Regions from separate parts of the Homo sapiens genome. Here all the other regions are linked to region 1. The links are contacts of gene promoters, found by promoter capture Hi-C in blood cells and fetal thymus (Javierre and others, 2016). All regions are on one chromosome and are shown on one strand. The core of a region is centred on a gene start or on the middle of the fragment in contact, and the rest is flanking DNA. Distances in the headings are between cores, read along the strand shown.

Region 1 (2,700 bases), core at 55-2,554:
AACAATGATAAAGAATTACCCAAGTGATGACAGTAAGAATATTCTAACCTTAGGGAACATCATGAACATCTCTTACACCAAGAGGAGATGAAACTGCAAAAAGATGTTTGAAAGGGGTCGCAGCAACGAATGCTTCTAATAGTGAATCTCTACGTTAGGGCATGTTAGAATCACCTTAGGAAAGTTCAAAAATTCCCCAAGCCCAGACCTCAAGCCAGACCAATTAAATCTGAATCTACAGGGGTGGAACCCATATATCTAAGTATTTTTTTAAAAAACAGCTCCTCAGATAATTGCAAAGTGCAGCCAAGGTTGAGAATCGCTGTTTTAAAGCAGGTACAAAAAATTAAACGTGGACTTTGATGGGGGGGACGGGAGTGTCGGTAGGCATGGATGAACTGAAAAGCCCTTCAGAATAGAGCGGTGACTGCAAGAGCAAGGACAAAAACTATATGAGAGCCCGTGGCAGGGGATTTAAGGGCCGTTTTTGTGTGGGACTGACAGGATTTGGGGGATGGTGACGACCTCAGCATACACCCGACTCTATTAAAATTGAGTTACTCTGCCAGCGGCCCTGTCTCTACCCGCAATCATATTTTCTAGCACCTTTTCCCACAGTTTGGAAAAAAAAAAAAAGGGGCGAAAACGTTCTCCCACGTAACGCGCCGTGGACGTGTATGGGAGGAGCAAAGGCCTGAGAATCACAAGCGCGCGGCCGCTCCCATTTCTTCGCGATTCCAGAACCAGAATTCACGAACATTTAGAGGAGGCCTCCCCTGGCTGTGTTTGTGCCCCACTTAGGAAGCGATGGTGGATTTCTCTGGGCAAATTGTCGCCTTTACAACGCCAGGGGGCGGAGGCGGGAGGGAGAGCGGCGAGGGTAAGGGCGGGGCAACTGCTGACGTTCCCGGTGACGACTCCGGCTCAGCCCTCACCCTGGTTTCCGGCGGCGCGCGGCTCCCTTTTCCGCTCTCCCGCGCGCTCACAGGTACCGCCTCACTCCCACGCGCCCCCCAGCGCTGCGGTGCTAGACAGCTGAGAGAACAGACACAGACCTGTCGGAAGGTCCTCTGCAGGTCCCCCTTCCGCTCTGCCGATCGACTTCCGCCTCGGGCAGTCAACATGTACGTTGCGGCTGTCTGGCGAAGCTGCTTCTGAGCGTTTGCGGAGGCGCAGCTTCCCCTCTGCGGGGCCGCCCTGCTTCCCCCCCATCCCCGCCTCCCCCCGCCCCTCGCTCCTGTCCCTGGGGTCGGCGGACTTCTCGCTACATGGGGGCGGGCTTCCGCGGTCGGCGCACGGCTTCCTGTTCTGAGGCGGCCCGGCGGTAGGCGGTGGCGACTCTGCCCGCTCCCGTTTCGGCGCGGTGACCGAGCGCCCGGGAGGCTCGAGGACCGCATCGTGTGCCGTTGCGCCAAGCCCGGTCCTGCGCCGCCATGGCCCCAGTGCAGCTGGAGAACCACCAGCTGGTCCCGCCCGGAGGCGGCGGCGGGGGCAGCGGCGGACCCCCGTCAGCCCCAGCCCCTCCTCCCCCGGGAGCCGCCGTGGCGGCGGCCGCTGCAGCTGCGGCTAGCCCGGGCTACCGGCTGAGCACCCTCATTGAATTTCTGCTGCACCGGGCCTACTCGGAGCTTATGGTGTTGACGGACCTGTAAGTGCCCCGAAACCCCTGCCTGTTCCCCAGCCCCCCTTCCCGCCCAACCGGCTGAGACGTTTGCACCTCCCTCTCCCCGAGAGGCTGCTGTGTTCTCCGCTGGACTGCTTAGTCTAGAATTTTTGAACTCCTGGGGTTCAGCAGAGGTGGAGAAGAAGCTTTGTATCTGGGGTCTTCCTGGCAACGATGCAACAGAGACTTGTTAATTTTGCGTGTTGTTACACTTCCACTGAAAATTGTGTGAAATTTTTGTCCGAGTTCCCAACAGAACTCTCTTGATTTCTTGGCTGGAATACATAATATTCGAGCTTTTAGAAAAAACTCTATAGATGGGAAATTTGTATTACAGCCTCTTGACGATACGTTTTAAATGTAAGCTGTTATTGCTTCTAAGTTAATGCAGGAGCTACATACGTTGTGTATAAAATACAAATTTGAATTCAAAGTACTTTTTTTCTGGAACTTTTGAGTGTTTGAGGTCTTAATGAAGTTAGTGTGAGTAAAATTTTTTTGTAAGTAGTCTGTTATTTCTTGGAGTATGAAGGGGGTTTATAAATCACCTAGTTACCCATGAAATGCCTTGGGGCATGATTAAGTTGTTAATCCCTTCAGAATAGGATCAGAATATACTAACGAATTTCAGTGTGTGAAGAAAAGGCACCGTAACATTTTGGGACTCTGTTGTACATCTTATAACCCAGGTTCAGAAAAAGTTAATCAGAATTTTATTTTTTATCTATTGCAAGACTTCAGATCAGGGTTATCAATTGAGATACATTAGTATGCAGATATTAGGCTCTAAAGCGTCACAGTAATTTGTTTTTAGAGACTGATAACAGATACTTGTTTGCAGATGACTGAAAGAGTAGGCTCTACTTAACTCCTGTAAAACGTCATTCTCAGTTTTGATGTATTGTACTTTTTTGAATGGGACAGAAAAAAGTAGTGTTAAAGAAGCCTACCCATGGCTAATGAGAAATTTAAATCGCTGTCAGGTTTAGGGACTATTATAATGATATACCTCTCTGCACCATTTATTGTTGGATTTC
Region 2 (2,700 bases), core at 92-2,591, 410 kb before region 1:
ACTATTTCCGAGAAGAAATTTCTCTAAGTAGAATTGTTGGGTTTAATAGTGTGTACATTTTTAAGGCCATGAAAACATTTATGATCAAATGTACACTTTGACAACAGTTTTGGCAAGCAGAAGGGAAAAGGTGACAGTTGGAAAATGACTTTTAAAAATTTTTTCCCAAACAATAAATGAAAGTTGAAGTTGAAAAAAGGCAACAGTCTACTAAATTCAGTGAAACTCAGTAACTATTCATGAATGAATGTGTACATCACTATGCCAGGCACTGATACTAATAGATATTTAAAAAAGAAGTTACTAGTTAAAAGCCCTGATAGCAAATGTACTGCTCTGATTTCAAGACTCCTCAGAAGGACCCTTGGTTTAATGAAATAATTTATACTCAAGGCCCTTATTACTATTTAATTTGCTGAATAAATACTTACCGAACTGTCACAAGTAAACATAGTCAAAACCTGAGTAGTATCTACATTAATACACCTTCCTGAGCTTTTCTTGGCTCTTACCTAAATACCAGTTCATCAGTGTAACAAATAGTTTTATTAACATGTGAGAAATTACTCAGCAATGTTCACTTTACCATGTGTTAAAAAATACACATGCCACAAATTAGAATGTAGGGAAACTGTGTGATTTGCTCACTGTGGAGGCACTAAATGTTTTAATGGTTAGGAAATTCTATTAATTTTTCTTAACTTCCCTATGAGCAAAGAAAACCTAATTTCTCTTCCCTCTGAAGTCCCTATCAGCTTTAACATTCGAATTCTATTCGAAACGGCATTTCAGAACCATACACTTGATAATGCCACCACTGTATAATCTGTTCTGTTTATACTTTCTCCCAAGGAGACTAAAATGCTTTTCAGATGAGTCACAAAACCTTGATGTACAGATCCTAAGGAAAGCAGACTAATGAACAAAAAAAGTCAACTCCGGAAGATCATTTAAAAACTAACAATGTCAGAGTAACAGAACTATCCTGTAACTAAGCCAACCTAACTGAAGGGGAAAAGTCACAAAAAGTGAGCAAAGCAGTACACTCTTACCTGGGAGCAACTGTAATCTAGTATTTTTATGTGGGCACTGAGAGCCAGGTCCATGATATCTACAGGCACATCATCACTGTGAGCCAGATTCCACAGAAGGTTCAACACTTTGTGTGCCATCACACCATCTTTATCATCTTCTGCAAGACGACGTATCAGCTCAAGTAGCTTTTCACGTTGCTTTTTACTCGCATTTGTCCAACTGGCCTAGAAAAAAATTAAGTGACATGAAAACAACACATATTTAGTCACCACTTCATAAATTGTCACCAGGTTAACTATATTCAAATTCATCAAAAGCAACGTAGCTAAGCACAGAATGATTCAAGTGAGATCTGAAAATATAGTTAGCCTGGTATTTTTTTTATAGGGTAGAGTTAAATTCCAAAAAAGAAAAATAAATGATACACTATTTCAATTTAGAAGACACCCAATTAAAAACTCTAAAATACATTTTTTTAAAACCTCTAAAATGGTATTGTAATACAACATGGTTATCATGCTTGGGGAAGGGCAGGGTACTAATGGCATTTAGTGAGTAGAGACCAGGGATGCTGCTAAGCAATATGGGAAAAGTTTTATGAGTAAAGTTACTGCTATGGTTCGAATGTCCCCCCCAAAACTCACGGTTAAGCTGGCACCATGCCTCTTGTACTTCCCAACCTCCAGAATCATAAGCCAAATAAAATTCTGTTCTTTATAAATTACCCAGTCTGTGGTGTTCTGTTATAGCAGCAGCAAATGCACTAAGTTGCTGATCAGTGTTTATTAGAAAATAAACTGAAACGAACTTAACGTCAAACAGCAGAAGAACGATTAAGCTGACCGGGCACGGTGGCTCACGCCTATAATCCCAGCACTTTGGGAGACCCAGGCAGGTAGATTACCTGAGGTCGGGAGTTCAAGATCAGCCTGGCTAACATGGTGAAACCCCATCTCTACTAAATATACAAAATTAGCTGGGCGTGGTGGCGCATGCCTGTAATCCCAGCTACTTGGGAGGCTGAGGCAGGAGAATTGCTTGAATCCAGGAAGTGGAGGATGCAGTGAGCTGGGATCGCGCCACTGCACTCCAGTCTGGGTGACAGAGTGAGACTCTGTCTCCAAAAAAAAAAAAAAAAAAAACAACGATTAAGTTAATGAGAGAAGATTAGTTCAATGGAATTATTAATATGGTACGTCTTCAAAGATGATGTGAATGCCTGTTTTTATTTCCTTCCAGCCTACACAAAATAACAAAAGGAATATGACAACTGCTAAAAATGTAAGACTAAAATATCAGATTACAATTAAAAACCTCTAGCTAACATTATAAAAAGAGAGACAACTAGGTATTCCTCCTCAAGGAAAAGCACACCACCACTTGAGATATGCTCTAGTAAAATTAAAAAAAAAAAAAACCTTCTGTATCAAAACTATTGACAGACACCAAGGCAACAAACAATCCAGTTTCTTCAACAAATAAATTGCAAGGGAAGTAAAAAAGAAGAAAGCTAGTTTCAAAGAGACTTAAAAGACATACACATGGACTGCACCAGGATCCTGATTAAAACTCACTTCTAAAATGAAGATGTATGATCTAAGACAACTGGAAGTTTTAAAACTATTTTATGATATTAAGGAATTATTGTTTTTTAGGTAGATAATG
Region 3 (2,700 bases), core at 77-2,576, 510 kb before region 1:
CTCTGTTACAGCCATTTTGCTCACACGATGTTAGCAGTATTCCTGATGTTAGCAGCAGATTATTTTCTTTGTTTTGGAATTCACTAAGTAAGATCCTCTTGGTCCTTTGCTGGAGAAACGCCACTTCCAGTTTTCCCTGTGAAGTCCCTATCTTAGGGTTGATGTGGCATCCTGAATGGGCCATCTGTCAGCAAAGCTGGGCACCATTAAAAACTGTGCTTGAAGGATACACATTGAATCATGATGGTGCTTGCTTCTGGTGTAGGGGAAGGGAATGGAATGGAGGATGGGGGAAATGTCGCCCAGGCTGGAGTGCAGTGGCTGGATCTCGGTTCAGTGCAACCTCTGCCTCCTGGGTTGAAGCCATTAGCTTGCCCAGCCTCCCAAATAGCTGGGATTACAGGCATATGCTACCATGCCCGACTAATTTTTGTATTTTTAGTAGAGACGGATTTTTGCCATGTTGGCCAGGCTGGTCTCGAACTCCTGACCTCGTGATCCGCCCACCTCAGCCTCCTACAGTGCTGGGATTACAGGCGTGAGCCACTGAGCCCAGCCATTTCTCTGTATTTTTAAAGTTTCGCAAAAACCTTTTTTTTTTTTTTAGTAGAGACAGGGTTTCACCATGTTGGCCAGGCTGGTCTCGAACTCCTGACCTCAGGTGATCCACCTGCCTCGGCCTCTCAAAGTGCTGAGATTACAGGCGTGAGCCACCGCGCCTGGCCTCCAGTCCTTTCTTAAGGGCCACTGCAGCCCTTGCTATCTTTGACTTAGTACCATGAGGAAAAGGAAACCAAGTTCAAGTGTACAGGAGCACTGCAACAGCAAAGAATCCAGTCATTTTCAATGAAAATTAATTCAAACAAAATACAAAGAAAAGTAACCAGAGTTGGGCAAGATAATATTCCTTGAATGTGTATATGTTCAAAATCTGAATGTATAAAATATTAAAGAAAAGAGTAAATATTGGCTGGGCGCGGTGGCTCACGCCTATAATCCCAGCACTTTGGGAGGCCGAGGCGGGCGGATCACCTGAGGTCGGGAGTTCGAGACCAGCCTGACCAACGTGATGAAACCCCGTCTCTACTAAAAATACAAATATTAGCTGGGCATGGTGGCGCATGCCTGTAATCCCAGCTACTCAGGAGGCTGAGGCAGGAGAATCGCTTGAACCTGGGAGGCAGAGGTTGCAGTGAGTCAAAGTCACGCCATTGCACTCCAGCTTGGGCAACAAGAGTGAAACTCTGTCTCAAAAAAAAAAAAAAAAAAAAAAGAAAGAAAGAAAAGAAAAGAAAAGAAAACGGTAAATACAAGGAAGCAACTGAAAAGCCAACAACACCAACCAACCACTTTGGGTTGCATCCACCTATCCAGGTAACGATGCAATCCTAAACTTACCAATTTTTCCATTTTAATTCTAAGCTAACAGATTTTATTGGTTGACTTTTTTTTTTTTTTCCACAAGACAGTCTCGCTGTCACCCAGGCTGGAGTGCAGTGGTGCGATCTCGGCTCACTGCAACCTCCACGTCCCAGGTTCAAGTGATTCTCCTGCCTCAGCCTCCTGAGTAGCTGGGACTACAGGCACCCGCCACCACGCCCAGCTAATTTTTATATTTTTTAGTAGAGACGGGGTTTCGCTATGTTGGACAGGTTGGTCTCGAACTCCTGACCTCAGGTGATCCACCCCCCCCCCCCCGCCCCCCGCTCGGCCTCCCAAAGTGCTGGGATTACAGGTGTAAGCCACAGCATCCGCCCCCCGCCCCCCTCCTTTTTTTTTTTTTTGAACGTGAGAGTTGCATCAACGGTCTGTAAGAAAGCTGGCTTTTCTTATAAAAAAGACACTGAGTACATCCAGAAAACCCCAGCAAGGATATGCCTGACACTAGGATTTCTCCAAACTATTTACTTTAGACCTGATTAATGATTGTGCACCTGGAGTGATGAGTTTTCCAGAGGTCAAGTTGGACTCAATCACCCATATTCAAATCAAGAGAGCAACTGGGAGAGAACACAATTTAAGGCAAAGTGTACTTCACACGTGTAGAACCTGTGCCTCAGTTGTGATGGCCACCCTCACCTCCTTTTTTTTTTTTTTTTTGAGACGGAGTCTCGCTCTGTCGCCCAGGCTGGAGTGCAGTGGCGTGATCTTGGCTCACTGCAAGCTCCGCCTCCCGGGTTCACGCCATTCTCCTGCTTCAGCCTCCCATGTAGCTAGGACTACAGGTGCCCGCCACCACGCTCGGCTAATTTTTTGTATTTTTAGTAGAGACGGAGTTTCACCGTGTTAGCAAGGATGGTCTAGATCTCCTGACCTTGTGATCTGCCCGCCTCAGCCTCCCAAAGTGCTGGGATTACAGGCGTGAGCCACCGCGCCCGGCCACCTCCTTTCTTTACATTGTTTCTTCAGTCCCATAACATCTTTGCAGCATTATTATTCCTGAGTGATTATGACAGCACAATTAAGTTTTTTTTTTTTTTTTTTTGAGACGGAGTCTCTGTCACCCAGGCTGGAGTGCAGTGGCATGATCTTAGCTCACTGCAGCCTCTGCCTTCCGGGTTCAAGTGATTCTCCTGCCTCGGCCTCTTAAGTAGCTGGGATTACAAGTGCATGCCACCACGCCTGGCTAATTTTTGTATTTTTAGTAGAGACAGAGTTTTACCATGTTGGCCAGGCTGGTCTCGAACTCTTGACCTCAGG
Region 4 (2,700 bases), core at 52-2,551, 380 kb before region 1:
TCAGGAGTTCAAAACCAGCCTGGCCAACGTGGTGACACCCCATCTCTACTAAAAATACAAAAAAAAAAAAAATTAGCCAGGCATGGTGGCTCACCCCTGTAGTCCCAGCTACTGAGGAGGCTGAGTCAGGAGAATCACTTGAACCCAGGAAGCGGAGGTAGCAGTGAGATGAAATGGGGCCACTGCACTCCAGCCTGGGCAACACAGCGAGACCCTGTCTCAAAAAAAAAAAAAAAACTTGACTAAAGCACACACAAAAACTGATTTGTTAAGATATGTTGGCTGGGCGCGGTAGCTCACGCTTGTAATCCCAGCACTTTGGGAGGCTGAGGCGGGCGGATCATGAGGTCAGGAGATCAAGACCATCCTGGCTAACATGGCGAAACCCCGTCTCTACTAAAAATACAAAAAATTAGCCGGGCGTGGTGGCGGGCACCTGTAGTCCCAGCTACCTGGAGAGGCTGAGGCAGGAGAATGGCGTGAACCTGGGAGGCAGAGCTTGCAGTGAGCCGAGATGGCACCACTGTACTGCAGCCTGGGCAACAGAGCGAGACTCTGTCACACACACAAAAAAGATATGTCCTCCTCTAGGCAAAATTCAGAAGCTTCAGGGAGAAGTAGAAAAACAGATATGAAGATAGACTTCTCAAAAAGAAATAGAAGTGACTAATAAATACATGAAATAAGACATAATTTTAAAATAGAGCTTTTCGCATGTTAGGCACTGTTTGTAGCACCGTAATCCTTACAAATGTATACAGTAGGAACTAGTATCATCCCTCTTTACAGGTAAGGAAAGGGAGGCACAGAGAGCAAAAGTAAATTACCGTATCAGTAAGTACTAAGTGGCAAAATGGGATTCCAACCCAGGGAGTCCATAGCTCTTAAATGCTACACTAGCCTGCCTCTCAACCTCATTAGTAATTGCGAAAATGCAAATTACAAAACCAAAATTTGTTCCACTGATCAAACTGGCGAAGCAAAACAAAGTTTTAAGACTGATACTATCAAGTACTGGTGAGTCTAAAGACATAGAAGCTCTTTAAATACATAAAGTGGAAAAAAAAAATGAAAAAGTCTGATTTAAGCAGTCCCTCTTTCGCTTTTGTTATCCATTTTATACACCCTAAATTACAAAGAGTGTTACGTGAAGCAGACAATTTTCAAAACCTTGAGAAACTTGCATATCATTTTCCTTAGCCACTTTGGGTCTGCTGACAAATTATGTGAATGATTATTTTCTTTTTTGAGACGGAGTCTCGCTCTGTCACCCAGGCTGGAGTGCAGTGGCGCAATCTTGGCTCACCGCAACCTCCGCCTCCCGGGTTCAAGCAATTCTCCTGCCTCAGCCTCCCGAGTAGCTGGGACTACAGGCTCGTGCTGCCACACCTGGCTAATATGTGAATAATTATTTTCTTGGCACTCAAAATATTAGCTAACCAATTCAACTTTATTCTTGTCTACTTCAAATCTGCTCCAGTTTCTTCTTTTTCTTGTCCCTCAGCTTGGGGTCATGATCCCATTGTATACCCTCTCCAAGGGATGATGCTCCAATCATCATCATCCCCAATCAATCTTTTCCCAGCCTGTGCTTGAATCTTCCCTACTGAAAATCACCAGTGTCTGCCCTTCCCTTTTCCCACAAGTCGTAAGACTGTCTCCATTTCCCCCTTCTCTTTCTTTTTAAATAAATGTGATGAAGACAAAGTAGGTAAGTTGTAAATTTTGGGTTTTTTGTTGTTGTTGTTTTGAGACCCAGGCTGGTCACGAGATCCTGGGCTCAAGCAATTCTCCTCCCTGGCCTCCCAAAGTGCTAGGATTACAGATGTGAGCCACCATGCCCCGCCCATCTCACCTTCCACTTTGTCCATTCTCTCTCATCACCTGGCTCCATCCAAAGCTACTAAAACTAAAACTGCTTTAAGCCAGAAGGTCTTAATCGAGACGTAGGGATGGGCTTCAAGATTAATTCCCCTAAAAATTACATACAAAGCTTTTGAGTATGTGCATTAGGGGACGCATGAGAAGAAGGTCCACAGATCAATGTTCTACTTACTGACAAATCAAATAACTGCTTCTCAATATTCATCCTGTTTGCCCTCTTCTCATCATTAGACACTGACCACCTCTCCCTTCTTGAAACTCTGAGCTTCCTTGGCTTATATAATCCTGGACTCCAGGTTTCCCGTCCACTTCTCTTCCAAGGAAAGGGGTAGAGTGGCAGTTCGTACAGTTCTTAACATTGAAACTGAGGTGAAAACCACTAGAGAGTTGGCTCTACACGTCTAGAATTCAGGCAAAACTTGGGAATCTTGAACACAGATTCAACTATTCACAAAAGGGTAGGAAGAGATGGATTCATCAGCACCACCTGGGAGTCTGTTTTTTTTCCCGAAAATAAATACAACCTCCACTCCCTACCATCTCCTCCTGAGAGTGATGAGGTTAGCGACTATATATTCCCAAGTGTGGGGCAAGTAGGGGGCCAGGGAGATCACCTTGTCTACTAAGCCAATACTGTGTCTCTTTTAAAAGTCTTTCCAGGAAGCAATACAAGGACGAACAAAATGTGGTACCTATGTTCAGTGGATTATTTAGTATTTTTTAAAAAGAAAGGAAATTCTGACAGGTGCTACGATATGGGTGAACCTTGAGGACATCATGCTAAGTGAAATAAGTCATTCACAAAAGAACAATACT
Region 5 (2,700 bases), core at 121-2,620, 260 kb before region 1:
TGTCTCAAAAAAAAAAAAAAAATTACACACACACACACACACACACACACAATGTTGCATCTCAATTTTTAAAAGTTGATTCAGAAAAGCTGGGTTCTGAATGTAAAGAAGTTTTAGGAATACTTTAACCAACTTAAATTTTCTTTTTTAAGGTATGTCCAAAAGTGATATATGAGAAAAACAAATGTCTAGATAAGTCTAAAAGAATTCTTTGAATAAATATAAAACAAAAATTCTAAGTGATTAAAGACACTTATTTGTGTTCACACGTATTCCAATTCAGAGGGACCTCACGTGATCACCCATTTCTCAAAAACACAGAAACATGCCCAACCACCTCACTAGACTCCATTCCAGAGAGTACAATGCTGAAACTTCCTCTGTGCAGCCTTTAAGGCACTGTCCAGAGAGAGGTTGGCAGGTGGATGGCTGGGCCTGTAAAGGCTGAGCAAGGCCACCGACAAGTACTTGGTGAAGGTCAGTGGGCAAGTTATCTTGCCAGCTCCTAACCGAGTTCATTTGTAGGTTTCAGGCTCCTGGCTCCACTCTGAAAGAACATCTGTTGTGACTTTCTGGCAATGCCCAACTGAACCCTGGCCCCTGTCCGTGCCCCATCCATTGGATTTGGGGCAGCCCAGTGTTCTGTTTCATCCTCCCACTGCCAACCCGGAATCAGCCTCCAGACTCTCTTTCTGCCATGTTTTGTCATTCTCTAAGTGTACTCAGTCAGATGCCTCAGCAAGCTCTCTCAAAAATAGTCAAAAGAGTGATCATGTTTTACAAAGTTGCGGCCCAATGTGCAAAGTCACTACTTGGAGAGGATCTGATAAGCGTCTTACCTCTAGAACCCAAAGACAGGGGATTGGATATGGAATCAATTCTAGTTGCCCCCAACCCACCCACCCCATGACTGGATTGTGGAGAATTAAGCTTAATTTGTTCAGCCTTTCCTTTGTATATTTTTTAAAATAAAAAATAATGCGAATTCAATTTTACGTAAGCAATAGAGATCTTTCCTGTATTTTTATTCAATTCTCCAAACCATCATTCGACTTTAAATTGGATTCACAGATACAATGTTTGGAGATATTTTTTCTCACTGAGATTTAGTACCTTATTTGTTCCTGGCCCATGTGATTCCCAGGTATCTGAAATGTATAAATTATTTATAGTCCAGATGGTGATCTGATACTATCTGCATCTAAAAATGTTCTGTGCTTTTGCTGCAGACACAGACGTTCAATTACAAAATTCAGGTTGGTCTTTAGGTCCTAGCCTGATATCTCAAGGCATTCTTGATTACAAAGAAATACTCCAAATTCCAGCAGCCTTTTTTCCGTTTGCTTTCATTGCTTAGCATTAAAAACCATTCCTCTGTGGGAGCTACCAAGTTAAGGAAGAGAAAAGGGGGGAAGTTCCTTTTTTTTTTTCTCTTGCCGGAGGAGGGAATTTTTTTTTTTCTTAGCCAAATTGAAAACTTCTAAGTTTCAAAATGGGAGATTGTGACTAGATTGCTATTTGTTCCCCCAAATCCTTTTTGTTCATTTTTTGGTAGCAATAGAAACCCCGAATTTAAGAAGGTAAAATGGCTTCCCAGAATAGAGACTACATTACCCAGCCTCCCTTATAGCTAGATGTGGTCATGTGACTACATTCTGGCCAACTATATGTGAGCAGAACTTATGTATGCAACTTCTGGATCATGTCCCTAAAGGAGCAGAGCTTGCTATCTGCTTCCTCTTTGCCCTTCTTGCTGGTTGGAAGAGGGATGTGGTAATGAGCCATCTGGGACCATGTGGACAAAGCTTCACTCAGGGATGGCAATTTCATAACACAGGAGGAGCCCAGGAACCACCATGGTGCTGAAAGAGCAGCTCTGGACTACATATGCCCAGAGGGAGAAATGCTCTGCTTTCTTTATCGTAAGACATTGTTATTTTGGTTCTCAGAGACAACAGCCAAAACTATATTCTAACGAAAAACACAGACACTTAGGCAGAATTGGAGATAATTTTGATCAAAAGACTAGAAGAGGCCTGGTGCAGTGGCTCACACCTGTAATCCCAGCACTTTGGGAGGCGGAGGCGGGCGGATCACCTGAGGTCAGACCAGCCTGGCCAACATGGCGAAACTCCGTCTCTACTAAAAATACAAAAAGTTAGCCAGGCATGGTGTCAAGCGCCTGTAATCCCAGCTACTCAGGAGGCTGAGGCAGGAGAATCACCTGGACCCGGGAGGCGGAGTTTGCAGTGAGCTGAGATTGTGCCATTGCGCTCCAGCCTGGGCAACAGAGGCGAAACTCTGGAAAAAAAAAAAGACTAGGAAAGGCCTGGTGCAGTGGCTCATGCTCGTAATCCCAGCACTTTGGGAGGCCTGGAGGATCACTTGAGCCCAGGAGTTGAGACCAGCCTGGGCAACATAGGAGGACCCAGGTCTCTACAAAAAATTAAAAAATTAGCCGGACATGGTGGAGCATGTTTGTGGTCCCAGCTACTCAGGGAGCTGAGGTGGGAGGATTGCTTGACCCTGAAGCCCAGGAGGTCCAGGCTGCAGTGAGCTGTGATCACCACTGCACTTCAGCTTCGGTGACAGAGCGAGAGCCTGTCTCAAAAAAAAAAAAAAAAGAGAAAAAAAAGAAAAGAAAAAGAAAAGAAAAAAGACCAGGAATGTCCTATCGCCAAGAAAAGTCTCAACTCTTCA

Evidence for each region. The method cuts DNA at HindIII sites, captures the fragments that hold promoters and counts their contacts. A CHiCAGO score of 5 or more calls a contact.
Region 2: a fragment that was not itself captured here is called in contact with the fragment with the promoter of MED14 in region 1 in 4 of 17 cell types (neutrophils, naive CD8 T cells, total CD4 T cells and 1 more); the score reaches 7.8 in neutrophils.
Region 3: a contact is called between a fragment that was not itself captured here and the fragment with the promoter of MED14 in region 1, in 2 of 17 cell types (neutrophils and erythroblasts). The highest score is 5.3, in neutrophils.
Region 4: a contact is called between a fragment that was not itself captured here and the fragment with the promoter of MED14 in region 1, in 15 of 17 cell types (naive CD8 T cells, total CD8 T cells, naive CD4 T cells and 12 more). The highest score is 13.0, in naive CD8 T cells.
Region 5: a contact is called between a fragment that was not itself captured here and the fragment with the promoter of MED14 in region 1, in 2 of 17 cell types (M2 macrophages and M1 macrophages). The highest score is 5.4, in M2 macrophages.

The regions. Positions count from the first base shown.
Region 1 is chrX:40,734,146-40,736,845 of GRCh38, reverse strand. It overlaps MED14 (mediator complex subunit 14), which reads left to right and starts at 1,304. Exons shown (of 31, transcript NM_004229.4): 1 at 1,304-1,648. The coding sequence starts at 1,434. It overlaps MED14OS (MED14 opposite strand), which reads right to left and starts at 1,156. Exons shown (of 2, transcript NR_169211.1): 1 at 1,056-1,156. RefSeq lists enhancers at 92-1,012, 1,013-1,934 and silencers at 967-1,056, 1,317-1,696. The HindIII fragment of the contact is 3,630 bases long and covers 1-1,811 here.
Region 2 is chrX:41,146,928-41,149,627 of GRCh38, reverse strand. USP9X (ubiquitin specific peptidase 9 X-linked) reads right to left here. Exons shown (of 45, transcript NM_001039591.3): 12 at 1,053-1,259. Among named protein-coding and RNA genes, the nearest start is that of USP9X, 63 kb to the right of the region's middle. The HindIII fragment of the contact is 4,811 bases long and covers 1-2,700 here.
Region 3 is chrX:41,242,543-41,245,242 of GRCh38, reverse strand. No RefSeq gene overlaps it. Among named protein-coding and RNA genes, the nearest start is that of LINC02601, 32 kb to the left of the region's middle. The HindIII fragment of the contact is 3,284 bases long and covers 1-2,700 here.
Region 4 is chrX:41,118,378-41,121,077 of GRCh38, reverse strand. All of the region lies in intron 1 of USP9X (ubiquitin specific peptidase 9 X-linked), which reads right to left. Among named protein-coding and RNA genes, the nearest start is that of USP9X, 34 kb to the right of the region's middle. The HindIII fragment of the contact is 1,388 bases long and covers 608-1,995 here.
Region 5 is chrX:40,996,088-40,998,787 of GRCh38, reverse strand. No RefSeq gene overlaps it. Among named protein-coding and RNA genes, the nearest start is that of USP9X, 88 kb to the left of the region's middle. RefSeq lists a silencer at 1,654-1,713 and an enhancer at 1,478-1,772. The HindIII fragment of the contact is 875 bases long and covers 933-1,807 here.